4 separate regions of the Homo sapiens genome follow, and regions 2, 3 and 4 are each linked to region 1. Evidence: promoter capture Hi-C in 16 types of primary human blood cells and fetal thymus (Javierre and others, 2016). All regions are on one chromosome and are shown on one strand. The core of a region is centred on a gene start or on the middle of the fragment in contact, and the rest is flanking DNA. Distances in the headings are between cores, read along the strand shown. Region 1 holds the start of DDX39A (DExD-box helicase 39A). Region 2 has its middle 2.4 kb from the start of ZSWIM4. Region 3 overlaps ZSWIM4 (zinc finger SWIM-type containing 4). Region 4 holds the start of CC2D1A (coiled-coil and C2 domain containing 1A).

The links. The method cuts DNA at HindIII sites, captures the fragments that hold promoters and counts their contacts. A CHiCAGO score of 5 or more calls a contact.
Region 2: a fragment that was not itself captured here is called in contact with the fragment with the promoter of DDX39A in region 1 in 1 of 17 cell types (non-activated CD4 T cells); the score reaches 7.4 in non-activated CD4 T cells.
Region 3: a fragment that was not itself captured here is called in contact with the fragment with the promoter of DDX39A in region 1 in 1 of 17 cell types (activated CD4 T cells); the score reaches 5.3 in activated CD4 T cells.
Region 4: the fragment with the promoter of CC2D1A here is called in contact with the fragment with the promoter of DDX39A in region 1 in 7 of 17 cell types (total CD8 T cells, naive CD4 T cells, naive CD8 T cells and 4 more); the score reaches 9.9 in total CD8 T cells.

Annotation. Positions count from the first base shown.
Region 1 is chr19:14,418,048-14,420,590 of GRCh38, forward strand. DDX39A (DExD-box helicase 39A) reads right to left here and starts at 1,294. Exons shown (of 11, transcript NM_005804.4): 1 at 1,223-1,294. RefSeq lists enhancers at 294-353, 764-903 and a silencer at 1,024-1,123. The HindIII fragment of the contact is 5,494 bases long and covers 1-2,408 here.
Region 2 is chr19:13,791,799-13,794,341 of GRCh38, forward strand. No RefSeq gene overlaps it. Among named protein-coding and RNA genes, the nearest start is that of ZSWIM4, 2.4 kb to the right of the region's middle. The HindIII fragment of the contact is 9,824 bases long and covers 1-2,543 here.
Region 3 is chr19:13,831,019-13,833,561 of GRCh38, forward strand. It overlaps ZSWIM4 (zinc finger SWIM-type containing 4), which reads left to right. Exons shown (of 14, transcript NM_001367834.3): 14 at 1-1,236. The coding sequence ends at 32. Among named protein-coding and RNA genes, the nearest start is that of MIR24-2, 4.1 kb to the right of the region's middle. RefSeq lists enhancers at 2,406-2,455, 2,506-2,543. The HindIII fragment of the contact is 4,589 bases long and covers 1-2,543 here.
Region 4 is chr19:13,904,926-13,907,468 of GRCh38, forward strand. It overlaps CC2D1A (coiled-coil and C2 domain containing 1A), which reads left to right and starts at 1,276. Exons shown (of 29, transcript NM_017721.5): 1 at 1,276-1,576. The coding sequence starts at 1,517. BRME1 (break repair meiotic recombinase recruitment factor 1) reads right to left here and starts at 1,192. Exons shown (of 9, transcript NM_001345843.2): 1 at 790-1,192. RefSeq lists a silencer at 1,591-1,650. The HindIII fragment of the contact is 3,878 bases long and covers 1-1,996 here.

The DNA of each region.
Region 1 (2,543 bases), core at 44-2,543:
AAGACGGAGGCTGCAGTGAGCCGAGATAGTGTCACTGCACTCCAGCCTGGGCGACAGAGCAAGGCTCTGTCTCAAAAAAAAAAAAAAAAAAAAAAAAAGAGAGAGAGAGATAAATAAATTGGGGTGAACCGAATCTGCTAAGATAAAATTTTCGAGAAACCGGGCTGGACAGGATCTAAAGCTCAAAACTGATTAGATCAGGAAAGGATCCGGCGGGGTTTTCCCCGCCCAAAGTGGGTGGCCATGACCGCTAAGGCGCCAGGAGCGCATGAACTTGAAAGGTGACAGCGGGGAACTCACAACCCAGACACGCCACGTGTACCCAGTTACCCTCAAGTGTCCCCAGGCAGGCTTTCCACCCCGGAGTTTATTCCCACCTGGGGACTCCTATTTCCAAAAGAAAATCTTTTTTTCATTCTGTTTTTTTTGAGGCAGAATCTCGCTCTGTCACCCAGGCTGGAGTGCAGTGTCGCGATCTCGGCTCACTGTAACCTCCACCTCCCGGGTTCAAGCGATTCTCGTGCCTCAGCCTCCCGAGTAGCTGGGACCACAGGCGCTCGCCACCACGCTCGGCTGATTTTTTTTTGTATTTTGAGTAGAGACGAGGTTTCACCATGTTGGCCAGGCTGGTCTCGAACTCCTGACCTCAAGTGATCCGCCCTCCTTGGTCTCTCCCAAAGTACTGAGATTACAAGAGCCACCGCGCCCGGCCTTCCAAAATAAAGTCTTATTTGCTCTAAATCTCAGAATCCCGAATCCCGTAAAAAGTAGACCAAGAAGAAGGTAGACTGGGAAAGGGATCAAGTCCCTCGGACCCAAAGAAACCCCTGACAACTGAAAGCTCCAACTTCTCCCACCCAGGCCCCAGACCCCGGCGTCACCCCCTCGTCCCTCTCCAAATGGCCCCAGGCCGCCGCGGGGTCTATTCGGACGAACTGACAGACTCCAAGTGGGGCTCGGAGCGCCGTAGGCCATGACAGCCCCTCCGAGAAGCGGGCCCCGAGCCCCGAGCACCGCGCGCCAACGGCTGGCCCACCCCTAGCGCATGCGCCCCGGTGCCCAACGGCCAACACACAGCGCTCTGACACACCAACCGCCCCGCCCCCACCGTCTCGCGACCCTTTCTCCCCCTCCCCTTAGATCCCAACGTCTCCCCTCGTCCTCTCGCTCTCAGTTCAGACGTCCCCACACCGCGGCCCCGCGCCCGGGATCCGCTGCTCACCTGGCTCCCCGTTCTTCTCCGCGCGCTGCTAAGAGACACTTCCAACTTCGGTTTTCCGCCGGGCGCTCAGACACGAGTTGCTGCGCTTCCTGCCTCTTGCGTCGGGCTGCTGCTCTGCTGACTGGGCCGCTGCCTTTTCATTCAAGAGAGGCCGAAGCGGTGATTGGGTCCTGTGGAAGGGACCGGGAGATTATTGGCGGAGACGGGAAGAAAGAGGGCGTGCCTTACGCCTCGCGTTTATTGGTCAATCTAAAAGTAGGCGCGCCCCAGTGAGCCGACAGACTGGCTCCGACAGCGCGCGGTCTCGTGATCTGGGTGTGGTGCTCGGTGGGAGCCGCCATGTTTAGTACTGATAACTGAAGACCGGATGATTGCGTTTTGGCGTGTGCCCCACCTTTTCGAAGAGTGGCGTCTGCGCTGGGCGCTGAAACCAGAACTGTCCCAGTTGCTATCAATCTGCGGCCTGGGGGTCCTCCACAGTGTAGGCTCTGAAAAGAATAGGGAGCTTGGAATGACTCAAATGGACAGAACATTTTGCAGTATTTGGATTTCTATCGCTCCACGATAGTTTTGTCTCCTTGATTTTCACGTTAGTAGAAGCATGCAATAGGTTGTCTTTTGTGTCTGACTTTTGCTCAACAAAGCTGTTTTTTTGAGACGGAGTCTGGCTCTGTCACCTAGGCTGGAGTGCAGTGGCGCGATCTCTGCTCACCACAACCTCCGCCTCTCGGGTTCAAGCGATTCTCCTGCCTCAGCCTCCTGAGTAGCTGGGACTGCTGGCGCCCGCCACCACACCTGGCTAATTTTCATATTTTTAGTAGAGAGGGGTTTCGCCATGTTGGCCAGGCTGGTCTCGAACTCCTGGCCTCATGTGATCTGCCCATCTCCGCCTCCCAAAGTGCTGGGATTACATGAGCCACCCTGCCTGGCCGCAGCAAAGTGTTTTTGAGAGTTGTCCATGTTGTGGGGATATCAACAGCTCGTTATTTTTTACTGCTGAGTGGTATTTCATTGTGTGGCTATACTATAATGTAGCCAATATAGTTTCACTCACCTGTTCTTGGCCAATTGATTGTTTCCGGTCTTTGGCCACTGTTAATAGAGCTTGTACTGTAAGAGTATTTTGGGGAAGATAAATTTTCATTTCTTTTAAATACTTAGGAGTGGCATGGTGGCATGGTCACTAAGCTTTATTAGATCCTGGCAGATTTATTTTCCTATCATCCTTCCTCCCTCTTTCCCTCCACTTTCTTCTTTCTTTCTTCAGGGTGTCACTCTTGTTACCTATCATGCCCAGCTAATTTTTAAAAATTTGGTAAAG
Region 2 (2,543 bases), core at 19-2,518, 630 kb before region 1:
GTCGCCCAGGCTGGAGTGCAACACTGTGATCTCAGCTTACTTCAACCTCCACCTCCCGGGTTCACGCCATTCTCCTGCCTCAGCCTCCCAAGTAGCTGGGATTACAGGCACCCGCCACCAGGCCCAGCTAATTTTTTGTATTTTTAGTAGAGACGGGGTTTCACTATGTTGGCCAGGCTGGTCTCAAACTCCTGACCTTGCGATCCGCCCTCCTCGGCCTCCCAAAGTGCTGGGATTACAGGAGTGAGCCACCGCGCCCCGCCTAAGCTGGTCTTAAACTCCTGACCTCAGATGATCTGCCCGCCTCGGCCTTCCAAAGTGCTGGGATTACAGCCCTGAGCCACTGTACCCAGCCTACATACGTAATTTAAATGTCCTGAAACCATGTAAAAGAAAATATATGAAATCAATTTTAATAATGTATTTTATTAAACCAAGTTTATCTAAAATATAATTTCAACATGTTAACAACACTAAACATTTGCTTTCTTTTGTTCTGTCTTTTTTTTTTTTTTTTTGAGACAGAGTCTCACTTTGTTGCCCAGGCTGGAGTGCCGTGGTGCAATCTTGGCTCACTGCAAACTCCGCCTCCTGGGTTCAAGTGATTCTCCTGCCTCAGCCTCGCAAGCAGCTGGGATTACAGGCGCCCGCCACCACGCCCAGCTGATTTTTGTTTTGTTTTGTTTTGTTTTGTTTTTTGAGGCGGAGTCTTGCTCTATTGCCCAGGCTGGAGTGCAGTGGCGCGATCTCAGCTCACTGCAAGCTCCACCTCCCGGGTTCACGCCATTCTCCTGCCTCAGCCTCCGGAGTAGCTGGGACTACAGGTGCCCGCCCCCACGCCAGGCTAATTTTTTTGTATTTTTAATAAAGACGGGGTTTCACCGTGTTAACCAGGATGGTCTGCATCTCCTGACCTCATGATCCGCCCGCCTCGGCCTCCCGAAGTGCTGGGATTACAGGCGTGAGCCACTGTGCCCGGCCCTAATTTTTGTATTTTTAGTAGAGACGGGGTTTCACCATGTTGGCCAGGCTGGTCTTGAACTCCAGACCTCAGGTGATCCGCCTGTCTCAGTCTTCGAAAGTGCTGGGATTACAGGTGTGAGACACCTTGCCCGGCCTCGTTTTCTGTTTTTTTGTTTGTTTGTTTGTTTTCCTGAGACGGTCACACTGTCACTCCGGCTGGAGCACAGTGATACAATCATATCTCACTGTAGCCTGAACCTCTTGGGCTCGAGAGATCCTCCTGTCACAGCCTCCAGAGTAGCTGGGACTACTGGCTTGTGCCACCACGCCCAGCTGATTTTCTTATTTTTTAATAGAGATGGGTTTTCGCCATGTTGCCCATGCTGGTCTCAAACTCCTGGGCTCAAGTGATCTTCCCACCTCACCATCCCAAAGTGCTGGGATTCCAGGCGTGAACCACCGCGCCTGGCCAAAACATTCTTTTTTTTTTTTTTTTGGAGTCTCACTCTGTCCCCCAGGCTGGAGTGCAGTGGCGCAATCTTGGCTCACTGCAACCTCTGCCTCCTGGGTTCCCACCATTCTCCTGCCCTAGCCTCCCTAGTAGCTGGGACTATAGGCGCCTGCCACCATGCCCGGCTAATTTTTTGTATTTTTAGTAGAGAAGGGGTTTCACTGTGTTAGCCAGGATGGAAAACATTCTTAATGAAATATTTTAGGCCGGGCGTGGTGGCTCACGCCTGGAATCCCAGCACTTTGGGAGGCCAAGGCAGGCAGATCATAAGGTCAGGAGTTTGAGACCAGCCTGCCAATATGGTGAAACCCCGTCTCTACTAAAAATGCAAAAGTTAGTCAGGCGTGGCGGTGGGTGCCTGTAGCCCCAGCTACTTGGGAGGCTGAGGCAGAATAATCACGTGAACCTGGGAGGCAGAGGTTGCAGTGAGCTGAGATCACTCCATCTCAAAAAAAAAAAAAGAAATATTTTTCCTTGTTCCCTTCCTGCTATGTCTCCAAAATCCACTCTGTATTTTACCTTTCCAGCACAACCTAATTTCAGCCAGTCCCATTTCAAGGGCTCAGAGACCACTTGTGGCCATTGGTGACCATACTGGACAGTGCAGGTCTGCAGGGGAGTTTAACTAATTGAGGGGGTGGCAGGGAGAGTGGGTGAAGACTGGCCAGAGGGTGCAGCTGTGAGACTCGAAGTTTCTCCAAGAAAAAGCTAGGGCTTCCATATGGATGAGTGGATAATCACTGTTTTTTTTTTTTTTCTGCTGTGCCTATCATTTAACTGAATGGAGGCAAAGCATGTGTTGGTTGGTACATTCAACAAGTTCTAGGTTAAGCGCCTACCTTCCAGGTGCTGCCGGTACAGTAAAGCACAGATGGGACAAACTCCTGCCTCCTGAGGCTCACAGTGGAGAGGGAGAGATTGAAATTAAGCAACTACCAAAGGTGGATCACTTGAGGTCAGGAGTTCAAGACCAGCCTGGCCAACATGGCAAAACTCCGTCTCTACCAAAAATACAAAAATTAGCCGGGCGTGGTGGTGGGCGCCTATAATTTCAGCTATTCGGGAGGCT
Region 3 (2,543 bases), core at 30-2,529, 590 kb before region 1:
TCATGCTTTTGGTGCGGGAGCGTTTTGGTTGAGGGACAGTGGGGTGCGTGGGAGTGGGGATCCCCCTCGCCCCTGCGTCCCCCACCCTTGCTCTCCAATTAGGCCCACGTGGCATTTCAGTATTATTAAGTCAGGGAAGGAGCCCGGCTGGAGATGGGGGCAGGGGGAGCAGCATCCTGCCACGTGTGTGCCTGGGAGTCTGTGAGCAAGTGTGCAAGACTCCAGAAGCAGAAGCCATACTGCCACCCAGAAGCCTGGAAGGGGTGTGTGCTTGGGCTGCTGGTATGACCCCACTTTGGGCACCCCAAAAGCAATAGGCAAACTCCCCTTACCCAGACTGGCTTGGGCTCCAGGAGGGAGGCTGGGAGGCAGGACTTTCCAGAAATCGACCCTCTAAGTCAATGTAGCACATTTTCCCCCAACCCCACCCTGGGTGGCCAAGGGTCCTCCCCCACCCCCTACTGCTCAGGGCCCCCCATTATGCCACCTCCAAAGTGGCTGCCCAGCCAGGACCATTGGCTCACCCCCACTGAAGGAATTGAAGAGGCCTCAGGCCTCAGCCTCATACCTCACCCCCTTATCCTATCCGGCCAGGACCCCCATTTCCTTGGGCACTAGGGTCCCAGGGTGGGCTCAGGGTTGGGGAAGTCCTCGCTGCCCTCTCTTCTCACCTGCTAGTCACTGGACGTACAACTCAGGAACTGAGCGAGGCTCACACTGCCCCTTCCAACCTGGGGTTGGGGGACACAGACGCGAGAGAGCCGGAGACCCCCACCCCCGATCTGGAAAGGAAAGAGACCTGTATCTTGGTGTTTTTCTGGCTTTTTCACCCTTTCGCCTCCTGTCTTTCTGCTTCGCCCCTTCATCTTACTCTGTTTCCATTTTTCCCGGCACTTACCTGCCTTTCTCTCTGCACCTAAGTCCCTGCCGCCCTCTCTCTTTGGCCATCCTTCCTTTCCCCCACCTTGACCCAGGGAGGAGAAGGGAGAACATCACCCCCCCAAGTCACCCCCACATCTTTTCCCTTCTTGTATATTAAGGACAAAATACCACATCATTTTGTAACTTTTTTTCTATTTATTGAACGGTGTATTACATGTCCTTTTCCTTTTTTTTTTTCAAAGATTGAACAGAAATTTTTCTTTTTAATTTTATTTTGAGACTGGGGTGCATCTCCAGAGCCACTCACACCCTCAACCTCGTTTCCTCCGCAAAAAAAAAAAAAAAAAAAAAAAATGTCTGGCCTTATTTCTGGGTGCAGCGCCAAGCGAGGGGTGGGATGGGAGCGACTGCTGGCTTCATTCCATGGTAATTATGTAAATATTTCCCTTTTTTTTTTTTTGGTCTTTCTCTGTTGCCCAGGCTGGAGTGCAGTAGCGCGATCTGGGCTCACTCCAACCTCCACCTCCCGGGTTCAAGCGATTCTCCTGGCTCAGCCTCCCAAGTAGCTGGGATTACAGGCATGCGCCACCACACCGGGCTAATTTTTGTATTTTTTAGTAGAGACGGGGTTTCACCATGTTGGCCAGGCTGGTCTCGAACACCTGACCTCAGGTGGTCTGCCCGCCTCAGCCTCCCAAAGTGCTGGGATTACAGGCGTGAGCCACCGCACCCGGCCTTATGTAAATATTTCAAAACAGAGATGGACAGCTCACCATGAGGGAACACAGGGCTGAATGCGTTACCGCTGTCATTTAATCGTCACCACAGCCCTATGAGTTGGTAGGATTATCTTTTCCATTTTACAGATGAGAAAACTGAGGTTGCAAAGTGGAAAGAAAGGGCACCCAGCGGCCGGGCGCGGTGGCTCACGTCTGTAATCCCAGCACTTTGGGAGGCCGAGGCGGGCGGATCACGAGGTCAGGAGATTGAGACCATCCTGACTAACACGGTAAAACCCCGTCTCTACTAAAGATATAACAAAAAATTAGCCAGGCGTGGTGACGGGCGCCTGTAGTCCCAGCTACTAGGGAGGCTGAGGCAGGAGAATGGCGTGAACCCTGGAGGTGGAGCTTGCAGTGAGCCGAGATCGCCCCACTGCACTCCAGCCTGGGCGACAGAGCGAGACTCCGTGGGTGGGGGGCAGGGGGGAAGGGCACCTAGCTAGGACGTTTGATTTAGGACCTGGTTGGGGCCACTGACCCCTGCCCACCCCTGACTGCAGGGTCCTTGAGCCCCTAGGAAGGGCCAAGATGGGGGTGGGGGGCGCCCTGGCTCCAGACACCAATGTTGGGGGTCCTTGTCTCCAAATTGCTGAGCATGGGAGGCTGTGGCAGGTGTTGGTGCAGCTGGATGGGGAAGACACCCCGATCAAAAGCGGGAACCCCGGGTTTAGACTCGACCTCGGTGGGCGGGGCTCTGGCCAAGAGAAGAAAAACGGAGTGGGGGTGGTCTGTGCGTGGACACTCGCCAGGGGACGTGGCCAGGGCGTGTCTGGGATCTTGCGCCACTGAAGAGGCTCCCAGTCGTCAAATAGAGTGAGGGATGGGATCCAAAGGACGGCGAGAAAGCCCGTGGTTGTCTAAACGTCCCTGGCTCCCCGA
Region 4 (2,543 bases), core at 26-2,525, 510 kb before region 1:
AAAATCTCTCATCATTATAAGCAGTCTCTGTCTCTGTTTATATCCAGTGGCTTTGGCTGAGAGCAGAGGTTACCCCTACCTCCACCTCAGCCCATTTGGCTGCCCCAGGGGTCAGATGGCTCCCACTGGGACACAGGATGGGACACAGAGTCACAGCCACTTTGGGCCATGGCCAGGTAGGAATTCAAACCTCCTCCAAACTGAAGATCTTATGCCCAGGACCTGAAAGACAAATGGGCCCTGGGGGGTCCTTATAGATAGCCCCGGGGACCCAGACTCTGGTCCCTAGGATGAAACAGCCTGTGTGAAGCCCCTCCCTCCAGACTGGGGTATCTGGGGGCCCTTCCAAGGACACTTGAGGACTCTCCAGGGGCCTCTGGAGACCAGCCTGGCCAATATGGTGAAACCCCCTCTCTATTAAAAACACAAAAATTAGCCTGGGCATCGTGACGCACACCTGTAATCCCAGCTACTTGGGAGGCTGAGACAGTAGAATTCCTTGAACCCATGAGGCAGAGGTTGCAGTGAGCCGAGATCGCTCTACTGCACTCCAGCCTGGGCGACAGAGCGAGACTCCGTCTCAAAAAAAAAAAAAAAAATTAGTCAGGTGCGGTGGCACACACCCGTAATCCCAGCTACTCAGGAGGCTGTGGTACAAGGCCAGGAGGCAGAGGTTGCAATGAGCCAAGATCGTGCCACTTTAAAGGGGACAGCTGGGTCCTTGGAGGGGAAAGAGCTGCCATAGGCCGGTTTCTCCCAGCCTTGGGGGCGAGGCAAACCAGAACGGACCTGGGCCACAGAAGTCGTTGAGGACCCTCTGTCCTTATCAGAAACGAGCTCTGCCTGGATCAGTTGGGAATAAGTCGCTTGAATTATCCGCGTTACTCTTTTTGGAAAAAATAAATGGCCAAATTGGCCCTCACAGAACGCTGGAGGCCTCGAGTCCGGAGGTGAAAGATGGAAAGGCCTGAGGGTGGGCGCTGTAGACCCCGCTCCCGGTGACAAGCCCCACACTGACACTACGCCGACCACCGAGAAGTGAGGACTCCACAGGCCGAGAGCCCACGTGAAGCCGGAGCCCGTCGGTGACTGACAGACGCTCTGAACCCCACAGATGTCGCCGCCCCTCACACCTGCGCGCGCTCTGCCTCTTTCCCGCGCCCCGCGAGGTCCCGCCCCGCGCATGAGCGACGCAAACACCGCCCTCGCAGCCCGCGACAGTCAGCACCGCCCCAGCCAGGCGCCTGCGCGCCCACGCACTACCTGCCGGGAGTTGTAGTTTCGGCTCGGCAGACCCGGCGAGCCCAGTGGCCGCGCTCCGGTGCGGCGGCGCCCGAGGCCCGAGGCGGAAGTGGGACGGCCAAGCAGGGAAGCGAGGGCTCGGGATCGACGGCCGCGGGGCGCCGACGAGGAGTGCAGGACTCAGGAAGGGCGAGTGCGCGGCGACAGAGCCCGGGGAAGGAGGCAGGGCAAGGCCGGGCTTGGGGGCAGGTGGTCCGGGCATCCAGCCTTGAAGATGCACAAGAGGAAAGGACCCCCGGGACCCCCGGGCAGAGGCGCCGCGGCCGCCCGCCAGGTGAGTTTGCGCCCCACGGCCCGACCTGGGGATCCCTCCCCACCCCCGTCACTCGCTCAGGGAAGGGCCCCACCCCCCAGGGAAGCCCGATCTCCGCCCCACAGGTAAGCCCCGGTCCCCGCCTCCCCCCAGGTGAGGCTCCAACACCACCCAAGTGTGGCCTACTGGCCTTGGCTCCCCAGCTCCTGGGGCCCTGCCCCGGGTTCGGGGCCACCTGTTGCCACAGCTGCTCCAGTCGAGGAGGGGCAGTCCTCGGACTTGACACATCAAACCCTTGCATCAGTCGGGCCATGTCAGACTCTTTTTATTCCATTGTACAGATGAGGACTTTGAGACTCAGAGACGTGAAGACATCTGCCCAAGGTCATAGGGATTAACAGCTTGGCCAGGGCTAAGCACAAATCCAGGGCTGCAGCCATAAGCTTATGGCACTGTGGCTGGACCCCTTCTCACTCTCCCGACTTCTTTGCCCCAGGCACCAGATAGTTTGATTTTTCTCAGTTTTGATGGAAGGAGCCCAGGACATAGCTTGGTGTTCAGATATTAGAGTCTGGCTGACCTGAAGTTCCCTCCTGGCCTCTGTACATCGGACACTTGACTTTACAGCTCTGAGCCTCAGCTTTCTCATCTGTAAAATGGAGATCTCTATAATCCCAGCACTTCAGGAGATGGAGGCGGAGGCAGAGGTGGGAGAGTCATTTGAGGCCAGAGTTTGAGACCAGCCTGGGCAAAAGCAAGACCCCCGTCTCGACAAAAAAAGACTAACTGGGCATGGTGGCATGTGCCTGTAGTACTACTACTTGGGAGGCTAAGAAGGGAGGATTGCTTGAGCCCAGGAGTTCAAGACCGCAGTGAGCTATGATTGCGCTACTTCTGCTCCAGCCTGGGTGACAGAACAAGACTCTTTCTCTAAAATAAAGATAAAAAATTAAAAATGGAAGTCCGGGGTGGTGTCTCACACCTGTAA